Regions from separate parts of the Homo sapiens genome. Here regions 2 and 3 are each linked to region 1. The links are contacts of gene promoters, found by promoter capture Hi-C in blood cells and fetal thymus (Javierre and others, 2016). All regions are on one chromosome and are shown on one strand. The core of a region is centred on a gene start or on the middle of the fragment in contact, and the rest is flanking DNA. Distances in the headings are between cores, read along the strand shown.

What was found. Contacts are between HindIII fragments. The CHiCAGO score rates a contact against its expected background, and 5 or more counts as called.
Region 2: the fragment with the promoter of PDAP1 here is called in contact with the fragment with the promoter of ZSCAN21 in region 1 in 1 of 17 cell types (M1 macrophages); the score reaches 5.4 in M1 macrophages.
Region 3: a contact is called between a fragment that was not itself captured here and the fragment with the promoter of ZSCAN21 in region 1, in 1 of 17 cell types (M0 macrophages). The highest score is 5.1, in M0 macrophages.

Annotation. Positions count from the first base shown.
Region 1 is chr7:100,047,425-100,051,582 of GRCh38, forward strand. It overlaps ZSCAN21 (zinc finger and SCAN domain containing 21), which reads left to right and starts at 2,350. Exons shown (of 4, transcript NM_145914.3): 1 at 2,350-2,417. RefSeq lists an enhancer at 2,252-2,871. The HindIII fragment of the contact is 10,625 bases long and covers 1,487-4,158 here.
Region 2 is chr7:99,406,128-99,410,285 of GRCh38, forward strand. It overlaps PDAP1 (PDGFA associated protein 1), which reads right to left and starts at 2,470. Exons shown (of 6, transcript NM_014891.7): 1 at 2,409-2,470. The coding sequence starts at 2,421. BUD31 (BUD31 spliceosome associated protein) reads left to right here and starts at 2,842. Exons shown (of 6, transcript NM_003910.4): 1 at 2,842-3,118; 2 at 3,907-4,042. MIR12119 (microRNA 12119) reads left to right here and starts at 3,045; the gene lies at 3,045-3,137. RefSeq lists a silencer at 2,239-2,298 and an enhancer at 2,509-2,898. The HindIII fragment of the contact is 3,476 bases long and covers 1,108-4,158 here.
Region 3 is chr7:99,515,898-99,520,055 of GRCh38, forward strand. It overlaps ZKSCAN5 (zinc finger with KRAB and SCAN domains 5), which reads left to right. Exons shown (of 7, transcript NM_145102.4): 4 at 3,930-4,012. Among named protein-coding and RNA genes, the nearest start is that of ZKSCAN5, 13 kb to the left of the region's middle. The HindIII fragment of the contact is 351 bases long and covers 2,031-2,381 here.

The DNA of each region.
Region 1 (4,158 bases), core at 1,100-3,599:
CCCGAGCGTGGTGGTGCGCGCCTGTAGTCCCAGCTACTCGGGAGGCTGAGGCAGAGGAATCGCTTGAACCTAGGAGGCGGAGGTTGCAGTGAGCCTAGATTGCACCACTGCACTCCAGCCTGGCGACAGAGTAAGACTCCATCTCAAAAAAAAAAAAGAAAGAAACAAAAGAATGCACATGGAGGCTCATTTTCTCTAATTTTGCATGTCTTTAAACATAAAAAATTTTTAAATTATCCTGGAAAATGTCAGGGAAAAATGATATTGAGTATCTATGAATTCATGACGCGTATGGACAGGGAATTCCACGTGCAGGCAGCCATATTGGTGTTCCTCAACACATGTGAGTTTTGCAGGACCAGACAAAAGCAAACTCACAGGGGGCCCGATGGAGTAGTGCTGAGGTGGAAAATACAGACTCTTCAGTCTGGAAACCTGCAGCTGAGCCAGAGCAGCAGGAGGAAAAGGCAGGCAAAGACATCTTCATCGAGTCCTGCAGCATTGGAAGGAGTTCAGCCCCTAGGTCTTCTGCTCAGGAAGTTTAGGACCCACAGAAGGGCAAGGCTACTTCTGATTGATGTCACCATGACCCTGGTCTGCAAAGTTGAGGACTAAACTCTGACTGTTTTCTTCTTTTGCCCAAATTACTATCTAAGGGGCCTGGAGAGTCACCCCCTTCAAACCATAAAGCCTCATCAGACAGGTTTTATTTAACTTTATATAACCTGGCTGACTTTTCAACCAGGCTCTGGCATAACATCACATGGCAGATAAAGAAGGAAACGAAAATATTTCCACCCCAAATATGTTTTTTTGCCATATCTTGAAATAACCCTACCAAGCTGTCTTCTCGTGGGGAAAATCTACACTTGGTAGAGAATCCCCTTCCCTTTCCAGGCCTTTTTCCTGATCCAGGAGAGAATCAACTGGGCGTCTGGCACTTTTTAAAGTCTGATAAGAAATATTTGCAGTCTGTTCTTTCTGAAGCCGGCTGCCTGGAGGCTCCATCTGCATAATGGGAACCCTGGTCTCCACAACCCCTTAGTTCAGCGGTCCCCAACCTTTTTTGGCACCAGGAACCAGTTTTGTGGAAGACAGTTTTTTCCATGGATGGCAGGAGGGGGATGGATGGTTTCGTGGTTTCAGGATGATTCAAGCACATTACATTTATTGTGTACTTTATTTCTATTATTATTACATTGTAATATATCATGAAATAATTGTACAACTCATCATAACATAGAATTAGTGGGAGCCCTGAGTTTGTTTTCCTGTAATTAGAGGGTTCCATTGGGGAATTATGGGAGACAGCGACAGATCATCAGGTATTAGATTCTCATAAAGAGTGCACAACCTAGATCCCTCGCATGCACTGTCCACAATAGGGTTTGTGCTCCTGTAAGAATCTAATGCTATGGCTGATCTGACAGGAGGCGGAGCTCAGGCAGTAATTAGAGCAATGGGGAGTGGCTGTAGATACAGGTGAAGCTTTGCTCCTGCAGCTCACCTCCTGCAGTAACGGCCCAGTTCCTAACAGGCCATGGACTGGTATCTGTCTGTGCCCCAAGGGTTGGGGACCCCTGCCTTAGTCATCCCAGACATTCCTTTCTATTGATTATAGGTCTTTAGACAATAACTTTCAGCCAGTTGCCCATTAGAAGATCCTTGAGTTCACCTATGACTTGGAACATCCCCGCTTGGAATTGTCCTGCCTTTCCCACAGAACCAATGTTCATCTTACATGTCTTGATTGGTGTCTTATGTCTCCCTAAATTGTATAAACCCAAGCTGTAGCCCGACCATCATAGGTACATGTTCTTAGGACCTCTTGAGACTGTACCTTGGGCCATTGGTCACTCATATTTGTCTCAAAATAAATGTCTTCAAATATTTTACAGTTTGATTGTTTTCATCAACGAAGTATTAACTCAATCTCTGGCTTCACGGGCCAAGCACAGCGTTCCATGTCCATAAACCTGGACCGAGGAGCTGGGCCCAAGGGTATCCAGTGACCTCGATCCAGGTTTATGGACAAGGAACCCTGTGCTTATCCCAAGGGTACTCAGGGACCTTGGGCTCTGAAGTCCACGAGGGTGACCGAGGTGGCTGCCTCAGCCCATGCCCTCCCTGCCCCAGGGCGTCGGGGTTGGGTGAGAGAACCGCCGCAGCCTTCATCTGGTCTGACCGTCTTCGGTAAAAACAGAAAGAGTCCCTGGCTTTTCATTTTCGGGGTGGACTCAACTCCTCCCTGATGTCCCAAGGGCCAGAGACACAGAGAGGACCTCCCGAATTTCTAGAGGGGCCGCTACGGCCCCGCACTACTTTTCCGCGGGGGCGGGGCTATGACGCACTTCCGGGTGCGCGGTCCCGAGGTACGCGGTGCGGTCTCCCGGTACCCGGAGCGGCTCTGATTCATGGTGAGCCTGCTGGTCGCGGGTTAGCGAGGCGGACAGGAGAGGGAGCCGTGGCTGAATGGTCTGGGGAGGGAGGAGTGGGTTTAGCAGCTGTGGCTTCCGAGGACCCCACCTAGACCGGTCCTAGCAGGGCTGTGGGGAGGAGCTCCTCGTCCCCGCCCAGGACCAGCTGGTGGGGGCGCTGGCTGCCTGGAAAGCCTTTTCTTCCACTTGGGGCTTTAACAAATGAAAGCTGGAAGAACAGATGTTTTGGAAGTTCTTTCGCGTTCCAGAATAGTTTTTTTTGTGCGTTCCCCAAGCCAAGCCGTCTATCAGTCTGACCGTGGCCGCCTTTTTTCCCTTTCTCTGAACTGGAGGTCCGAACGCAAGGCTCATTGATGGCAATACGCCCAAGGTGTTGGAAACCTGTGGGAAGCCGAACCTCATTAGAAGTGTTGGGTAGAATCAAATCCAAGGGAAGAAATAGTCCCCTCGGGCTTTGTTCGGGCTAGAACACACACACAGAATAGGGATCTGCTCATGGTTTAGAAAAACAGTCTTAAAGAACCATGTATAAATAAAAGAGTGTCAGGACAAAGTTGATTTGGGCCAGGCGCGGTGGCTCACGCCTGTAATCCCAGCAGTTCGGGAGGCCGAGGCCGGCGGATCACTTGAGGTCAGGAGTTCGAGACCAGCCTGGCCAAACCCTGTCCCCACGAAAAATACAAAAATTAGCTGGGTGTGGTGGAGCGCGCCTGTAATCCCAGCTACTCAGGAGGCTGAGGCAGGAGAATCGCTTGAACCCACCAGGTGGAGGTTGCACTGAACCGAGATCACGCCACTGCACTCCAGCCTGGGCGACAGAGCAACACTTGGTCTCACAAAAAAAAAGAACGTTGATTTGATGGGTGAGGTACTTGGAAACCCACGAAATCTAAGGAACAGTTGAGCTGTGGAGAGGAAAAGAATTAAGAGGCAAGATAATTGTTTTCAAGTGTTGGAAGGCTGCTATGGAGAAAGTGAGTATTGGTCTTGGACTAACCTAGGATTTTTGAAATGATGCGGAATTTGATTCAGGTTAAAGAATTTGTGTGGCCGGGCGCGGTGGCTCATGCCTGTAATCCAGCACTTTGGGAGGCCGAGGCGAGTGCATCACCTGAGGTCGGGAGTTCGAGACCAGCCTGACCAACATGGAGAAACCCCGTCTCTACTACAAATACAAAATTAGGCGGGCGTGGTGGCACATGCCTGTAAGGAGGCTGAGGCAGGAGAATCGCTTGAACCTGGGAGGCAGAGGTTGCGGTGAGCCGAGATCGCGCCATTGCACTCCAGCCTGGGAAACAAGAGTGAAACTACGTCTCAAAAAAAAAAAAAAAAAAAAAAAAAGGAAGAACTTGTAACAATTAGTGGAATTCTGTGGCTCAAGAATTATCTAATTTGGCTGCCTAGGGATCTAGGGATTTTCTTTTTTTTTTTTTTTTTTTTTTTTTTTTTGAGATGGAGTCTCGCTCTGTCGCCTAGGTTGGAATGCAGTGGCGCGATCTCGGCTCACTGCAAGCTCCGCCTCCCGGGTTCTAGCCATTCTCCTGCCTCAGCCTCCCAAGTAGCTGGGACTACAGGCGCCCGCCACAACGCCTGGCTAATTTTTTGTATTTTTTAGTAGAGACGGGGTTTCACCGTGTTAGCCAGAATGGTCTCGATCTCCTGACCTCGTGATCTGCCCGCCTCGGGCCTCCCAAAGTGCTGGAATTACAGGTGTGAGCCA
Region 2 (4,158 bases), core at 1,220-3,719, 640 kb before region 1:
AATCCCAGCTACTTGGGAGGCTGAGAAAGGAGAATCGCTTGAACCCAGGAGGCAGAGGTTGCAGTAGCCGAGATTGAGCCACTGCACTCCAGCCTGGGCCACAGAGCGAGACTCCGTCTCAAAAAAATAAAAAAATCGCTGTTCGTTACTTTTCCCTCTAATCTAGTATTTGGTGGAAAAACAACAACAAAAGCACCACTGAGCACATAAGCAATTTACTGCAGATGTTGGAAACACAATAAAATACCTTGTGTTCACCTTAGTAGTATGGCAAAAAGAGAATACTTAAGGGAAAAAAAAGAAACCCAAACCTACAGGCAAAAACTTTGTGCTTAGACTAAGAAATGACTGGCAAAGTACAGATGAAAACAAACCTGACTACACAGTCTAAAAGTTAAAAATGTGACTAGCAGTTAAAGTGTCAGTTTTATAGTCTGACCCTCTTCAGCCAGAACACCAGGCTGACCCTTGCTTAAGCCATCAGCCAGTTTTAAAGCAAGGTGGCATCCCCCTCTGCTGGTCCCCAAGTATGCAAGGGTGGCTGTGGCCTCAACTTCCACACAGGAAGCTGAGGCCCACCTGATTTCCATAGTCTGTCTCTGTGAGCAGAGACTCTGTAATCAGCCAGAGTTGCTCTGCACTCCAGAGGCGGTAGCAGAGATACTGGCCTCCTCTGATTCCTTACAGCAGCTGCAAAGCCATAATTGGGCTGCTAAAGATCACACCACCCATTTTTAATGACTACCTAGGTTCCCAGGGGTGTCTAAGTCTATGCTTATTAAAGTCCTATTGTGAGAGAGCAAGTGTGCCAAGAAAAAAACCAACACCCTTTCTTGCTCTCTTAATACACCAGGCAACAGTAACAACTCAAAATTGATTACTATAGGCTCTCCTCTCATGCACTTGGCTATGGGACCCTGACCTTAGCTTGGTCCACAGTAATTTTATAGTAGACTCTTCAAGACTTTAAAAAACGATTTGCACTTAACATAATGGAAACAAGCGTTGGTCCTTTGCTCTTAGGGAGTTTGATACTTTTAACACCTTCACGGTTTTTTGTGGTTTTCAGATTAACCCAAGAAAATGTAAACCTTGTCTACCCCAAAAAGCTTTTCACAAGCCCAAAGACCATTTAGCTATGAATTCATATTTAAGGTTTTATCGTTGTAACCTCCAACCTTTACCCAAAGTATCCATTAAGTAAAACTTCGGAGGGAGGATGGCTCATTCAGCAACCTCCTTTTACAGATGAAGGGACTGGGGAACAATAGCAGAGAGACTTTTCCAGCCACAGAATAAATCAGTAGAGAGCTAGGTTTAAACACATTTAGCTCTGTAATGCCCAATTATCTCTGGAGTCAGGAAGCGATTTAGGTTTGAAAACGCTACAGGCAGATGTTTCTGTGGGTTGAGTGCATTAACCAATATAACACATGAGCTACCAACACAAATATATTTGTTCTGTGCCAGGAGGTGGCCAGGCACTTTATGAGCGCTATAATTTTACCACCCCGGCCCCAATTCAACAAGCTAAGGATTAGCCCAGTGTTTCAGATGAGGAAGAGGTTAACTTGTTCAGGGCCACAGAATTAGACGTGACATAGCTGGGATTCAAACTGGGGACTATCGATTCTAAAGGGGGAAACAGGATAGAGAACGGGCTAGAAGATAGAGGACGGGCTACAATGGACTGGGCAGTCATGAACCTACTTACAAGATCAAGAGCTGGCAAAGCCTTAAAAATAAGAATAGTTACTGCTTCACTGGGCACTTTTAACGACTGCCTGGCACTGTACTGCGCACTCCACGTGGATTACCTAGTTGAAGCCTCCCAACAGTACTAAGAGGTAGGTACAATCGTTATTCCCATTGGCAAATGAGAAAACGGAGACACAGGAGGTGGAGCGACTGGCTCAAAGGAACACACCGAGCCGCTACCGAACGGGGGAGTCGAAACCAGGTCTGGAAGGCTCATGGGCATCTCCTTAAGTCCTCCTAGGCAGGCCTGGCTGAACCGAAGCCAGAAAAAGCCCACGTTTTACGCGAGAGGCAGGCGGGCCCGGCACAAGCGCGGGACGCGGTGACTCAGTTCCTAGCCAGCCAAAGAGTGGGATAAATTCCAGAACCCCTAGACCCGGAGAAGCGCATCCTAGATCCGGCTTTCTAGGCCGGCGAGGACCCAGAGCTTCCGAAACTCCTCAGACCACTGACGGAGTGACTCTGGGACACCACAGTCCTCAGTTTCCCCATCGGGACAATTGGGCGTCGAGGCCCAGGCCTGGCTCTCAGCCGGTGCGGACAGCCTCCCTCTGCGCTGCTCTCAGAGACGCGCACGGGCTGAGGGGACAGCGGAAGCCGGACCTGGGCCGCCCCTCCAGGCCTGCGGGCCACCGGCGCCCGCCCCTCACCTCCTTTAGGCATTGCGGCTCCGGCGGCTGCGGCGGCGGCGGCGGCGCCTCGAACTGACACCGGAACCGGAAATAGCTTGGGCTCGACTTCTTCCTCCTGGGCCAGCCGCCGCCGCCGCTTCAGTGGCCGCAGTGGCCGCAAGGACCCGGACCTCAGGGAGGCCTCCGCACGAAGTCGGACCGTCCTGCGCGCCGCCTAAGTCCAGGCTTGCCCGTCTGCTGCCAGGCAACAACGCCCCTAGTCTCTCCGTTCGGGAAGACGCGTGGCCCTGCCTGCCACCCACCGGAAGTGAGGGCAAATGGCAACAGCGGCTCTGGAATTCTATACAGGCATTGCTGAGGACACCTAAGATGACGCAATCTCCGCGCGGGTAGGGCGGGGCTCCGCAAGGACCTCATGCCTTAGAGATCGCCTGAAGAGCGGAAGCCTTCTGTCGAGAAGCAGCTACCCAAGCTCCAGGAGCTTCCGGTATGTGTTTTCCCTCTGTTCTCGATTACCTTGGCAACGGCTGAGGCGGGAGACCGGTGGTCTGCACCGTCCTGGAGGGAGATATGAGTGGCTGGACTCTCAGCCAGCCACTGGGATGTGTTCGGGCTTTGGACCTTGAGGCCGGAGAGAGCTCCCGAGAGGAGGCGGCGCCACGTTCGTTCTTCTGAGGGGACGGTAGATTTGGGGGTTTTCCTCTAGGATTCTCGCGCCGTTTCCTCTGGTAGGAACGTCTTCTGTGTTCTGATTGTTTTTCTAAGCTGGGTTCAGATGCTGTCCTTTTTATGAGTTTTCCCTACAATCCTGCACTATCTTCCTTCGCTCCTCCTCGCCTCCTTCCCCTAGCGCCCCAATCTCTCTTACACCTCCCGGCACATCTTTCTTCTCGATCTGATTACCTCCTACGTCCTCTTTCTCCTCGATCTGGTTACCGCCTACCATTTTCACCTCCGAGAGGCCTCTTCTGACTTCCAGGCTGGATCAGGGCCCTCGAATTTCCCTGGGTCGTAGAAAAGCGATCATTCTCTTGTCACAGACTATGCGCCTTGGGGCCGAGACCAGAATTCACCTATTTTTAGCTTCAGCGTAGGGGAGACTAGTGCGAAGACCACTGATTTGGGAGTCAGGAGCCCTCCAGAGTCAGGTTTTGCAAATTCTCAGCTGTGTGACCCTGATTCTACCTTATAGAGTTTGATTCCTCCTCTATATGGTTGTTTTAGAGAGTTCATGAGAGGAGGCTCTGTGGGCGGGGGGGGGGTGGGTCTTTGTAAAGTGTCAGTACAGAAGGGAGTGACTGAATGAATTTGAGAGAGATGAATCTGTTATGCTGAAAGGTAAATACTTAACCTGGGTTCTCTCTGGCAGCAAGGAAATGCTGTGTGGTTTGAAAAACGCTTTGCTATTTAGATTGGGATCGGCCTCTTGTATGGGAACTACCTGACTTTATGTAATATGTTGTTTGGTGTGAAAGAGACCTTGGCAATCAGCCAATCCACTGCCCTCATTTTACAGAAGAAACAGGACCAGAGAGGGAAGGTGACCTGAAAGTCACAGAATAATTTTTTAGAGCTGAACAAGAATCCAAGCCTGCAACTGCAGAGACGAGAGATCTTTCTGCTGTCTATACTCTTGGAAAGCACATCCTAAGGTACTTTGATTTTACAGTCATCTTTCCCTTTTTATTTTATGTTTTGTTTTGTTTTGTTTGTTATTGAGACATGGTCTCACTCCGTCACTTAGGCTGGAGTGCAGTAGTGTGAACAT
Region 3 (4,158 bases), core at 956-3,455, 530 kb before region 1:
GGTCACAAAGATATGGAATAACAGAGCTAGGATTTGAACCCAAGCAGCCTGACTGAATCCATCCTCCTCCCCTCTTCTGAGCCATCTCATCTTTGCTTTTTTTTTTTTGAGACAGGGTCTCACTCTGTTGCCTAGGCTGGAGTGTAGTGGCGTGACTGCAACCTCTGCCTCCCAGGTTCAAGCGACTCTCCTGCCTCAGCCTCCCGAGTAGCTGGGTTTACAGGCATGTGCCACCACGCCTGGCCACATCTGGTCTTTGCTTCAGCAGCAGCTTCTCTCCTAGGCACAGACTGCTCCCTCCTCGAGTCACTTGGGTTCTGTCCACTTTCAGGGTTTCTCTCCATCTGGCTCTTGTCCTCTGTTTCTAGCTGCTTCTCATCCTCTCTGCCCTGTTAACCAGATCCTAGCCGGTTTATTTTAGCAAAATTACTCTTCATTCGGACATAGACTGTATTCACCATTTTCATCAACTTCTGTTTTCAGTCTTTAGCCACTCCCGGTTTCAGATCCCTTCTCTGCTTTTGGCTTTCATCTGTAACCATTGTCCCGTCCTTTTTGTGTCATTGCTCCTTATTTCCTAGTCATTGGAAATCAGCAAGCCACGGATGCCCCCAGATCTCCAGGACTCCAGATCTAAATACCAACAGGGTCTAAACTATCCGGTTACAGCTTAATCCCAGGCAGGTCTGTGCAAGTCAAGGCACATGTGGATGGTGAGATCCAGACATGCTGTGGACCTTAGACAAAGAGCAAGCAGAGGTGACCTCGGGGTCAGGTGGTCCCTAGCTTCCAGAGGTGAGATGTCCGGGTGTTGCGCATGCTGTTCCTGCTGTGGGGAAAGCACCCTGTCTCCCCGATCTCCATTCCTACTGCCCAGAGTCACTTTCTGGGAAAAGGCTTTGCTGCTGCTGCTGCGTCTCCTGCTCCACTCTGTAAGTGCTCCTGCCTCTATGGTCCCACGGGAACTTGGGTCACCTTTCGTCATGGCACTCTTCACGCTGTGCTGTAAGGCTTACCTGTGTGCCCTTCCCATTAGACCAAGGGGTGTCCAATCTTTTGGCTTTCCTGGGCCACACTGGAAGAAGAATTGTCTTGTGCCACACATAAAATACACAAACACTAACCATAGCTGATGAGCTTAAACAAAATAAAAATTGCAAAAAAACCCCTCATGTTTATTTCTTTGAGATGGAGTTTTGCTCTTGTTACCCAGGCTGGAGTGCAATGGCGTGATCTCAGTTCAGCGCAACCTCTGCCTCCCAGGTTCAAGCGATTCTTCTGCTTCAGTCTCCCAAGTAGCTGGGATTATAGGCATGTGCCACACACTCAGCTAATTTTGTATTTTTAGTAGAGATGGGGTTTCTCCACGTTGGTCAGGCTGGTCTTGTACTCCCAGCCTCGGGTGATCCACCCTCATCAGCCTCCCAAAGTGCTGGGATTACAGGCGTGAGCCACTGTGCCTGGCCCTTCATAATGTTTTAAGAAACTTTACAAATTTGTGGGCCAGGCATGGTGGCTCACACCTGTAATCCCAGCACTTTAGGAGGCCGAACCAGGTGGATCAGTTGAGACCAGGAGTTCAAGACCAGCCTGGCCAACATGGCGAAATCCCGTCTCTACTAAAAATACAAAAATTAGTCAGGCATGGTGGCACATGCCTGTAATCCCAGCTACTCAGGAAGCTGAGGCAGGAGACTCTCTTGAACCTGGGAGGCGGAGGTTGCAGTTGGCCAAGATTGTATCACTACACTTCAGCCTGGGCAACAGAGCGAGACTCCATCTCAAAAAAACAAAACAAAATTAGCCGGGTGTGGTGGTGGGCGCCTGTAATCCCAGCTACTTGGGAGGCTGAGGCAGGAGAATCACTTGAACCTGGGAGGCGGAGGTTGCAGTGAGCTGAGATTGCACCACTGTACTCCAGCCTGGGTGACAGAGTGAGACCTTGTCTCAAAAAAAAAAAAAAGAAAGTTTACAAATTTGTGTTGGGGCACATTCAAAGCCATCCTGGGCCACGGGCCGTGGGTTGGGCAAGCTTGCATTAGACAGTACTTTTCCAAGGTAAGAATTGTTTTGTCTATTCCTGAGATGGGCAGAGAGAGAGAGAATAGATTTAATACATATTTCTTGACTGAATAGAAACTAACCATGGAAATTCTGGAAGGGATTTCTGAGGCTGTGGTAATCCAAGAGTGGTCCAGGAAGCCGTGGCACTGGCATTACCTGGGAGCTTATTAGAAGTGCAAACTAGGGGCCAGGCACAGTGGCTCACACCTGTAATCCCAGCACTTTGGGAGGCCATTGCAGGTGAATCACCGGAGTTTGAGACGATCCTGGACAACGTGGTGACACCCTGTCACTACTAAAACTACAAAAATTAGCCAAGCTTGGTGGTGCACACCTGTAATCCTAGCTACTCGGGAGGCTGAGGCAGGAGAATTGCTTGAACCCAGGAGGCGGAGGTTGCAGTGAGCTGAGATCGCGCCACTGCACTCTAGCCTGGGCCACAGAGCGAGACTCTGTCTCCAAAAAAAAAAATTTTTTTTAATTAAATTAAAAAATGAAAAAGAAATGCAAACTCTCAGGCCTCACCCCAGGCCTTTTGAGTCAGAATCTGCAAGTACCAAGATCCCCTAGGGGATGTAGGTGATTTATTTGTACATTAAAGCTCGAGCAGCCCTGGACTGTTAGGAATGCTTCAGTTTCATGGAAGATGTGGGAATTTGGTGGTTCTTTGAGATAATAAAATTTGATCTTGGCAAAGCAGAATGCATCCTTTTTTTTTTTTTTTTTTTTTTTGAGAGGGAGTCTTGCTCTGTCACCCAGGCTGGAGTGCAGTGGTGTGATCTCGGCTCATTGCAACCTCCGCCTCCTGGGTTCAAGTGATTCTCCTGCCTCAGTCTCCTGAGCAGCTGGGACTACAGGCGCCCGCCACCATGCCCAGCTAATTTTTGCATTTTTAGTAGAGATGAGGTTTCACCATATTGGCCAGGCTGGTCTCTAACTCCTGACCTTGTGATCTGCCTGCCTCGGCCTCCCAAAGTGCTAGGATTACAGGCGTGAGCCACCGTACCTGGCCCCCACCTTTTTTTTTTTTTTGAGACGGAGTCTTGCTCTGTCACCCAGGCTGGAGTGCAGTGGCACGATCTTGGCTCACTGTAACCTCCACCTCCCAGGTTCAAGCAATTCTCCTGCCTCAGCCTCTTGAGTAGCTGGGACTACAGGCACCTGCCACCACACCCGGCTAATTTTTGTATTTTTAGTAGAGGTGGGGTTTCACCATACAGGCCGGGCTGGTCTCGAACTGCTGACCTTGTGATCCTCCTGCCTCGGCCTCCCAAAGTACTAGGATTACAGGCGTGAGCCACCACGCCCAGTATTTTTTTTTTTTTTTTTTTTCTGAGACAGTGGCTGACTCTGTTGCCCAGGCTGGAGTGCAGTGGTGCAATCTTGGCTCATTGCAACTTCTGCATCCTAGGTTCAAGCGATTATCATGCCTTATCCTCTCAAGCAGCCAGGATTACAGGCGTGCATCACCACATCTGGCTGATTTTTGTATTTTTAGTAGAGATGGGATTTTGCCTTGTTGGCCAGGATGGCCTTGAATCCTGGCCTCAAGTGATCTGCCCCCCTTGACCTCCCAAAGTGCTGGTATTACAGGCGTGAGCCACTGTGCCTGGTCACAGAATGCATCCTTTATAGCGGAAAGGCAAGCAGGGATTAGCCTGACCAAAGTAGGAAGTCTAGGGTAAAGGAGGAATAAAACAGAGTGTGAGAGGATCCAGAAATTAGAGGGTCTTGACAGCCAGGCAGAAGAATTTGGCCTCGGCGCAGTAGGGGCCATTATGGATTCCTGAGCATAAGAGGAACATGATGGCAATGAGAACCGGGCAAAGATGTTCTCACTTAAACCTCTTTTTCTCCTCCCTTAGCCCTTCCTGTTCTCCAAGTTCCTTCCCTTCCCCTGAAGGACAGCCAGGAGCTGACAGCTTCACTTCTCTCAACTGGGTCCCAGGTGAGCTGGTGCCCCTTTGCCCTCAGAGAGGACCCATCCTGAACCTTCACCAAGAGTTCTGTTTCTTTAGCCAGTGACTAGGCCCATCTTGGGTTGGTACCTTCATTCCTTTGGCCTTTTTCCTTTCTGCCTAGTCCTTCCCCATC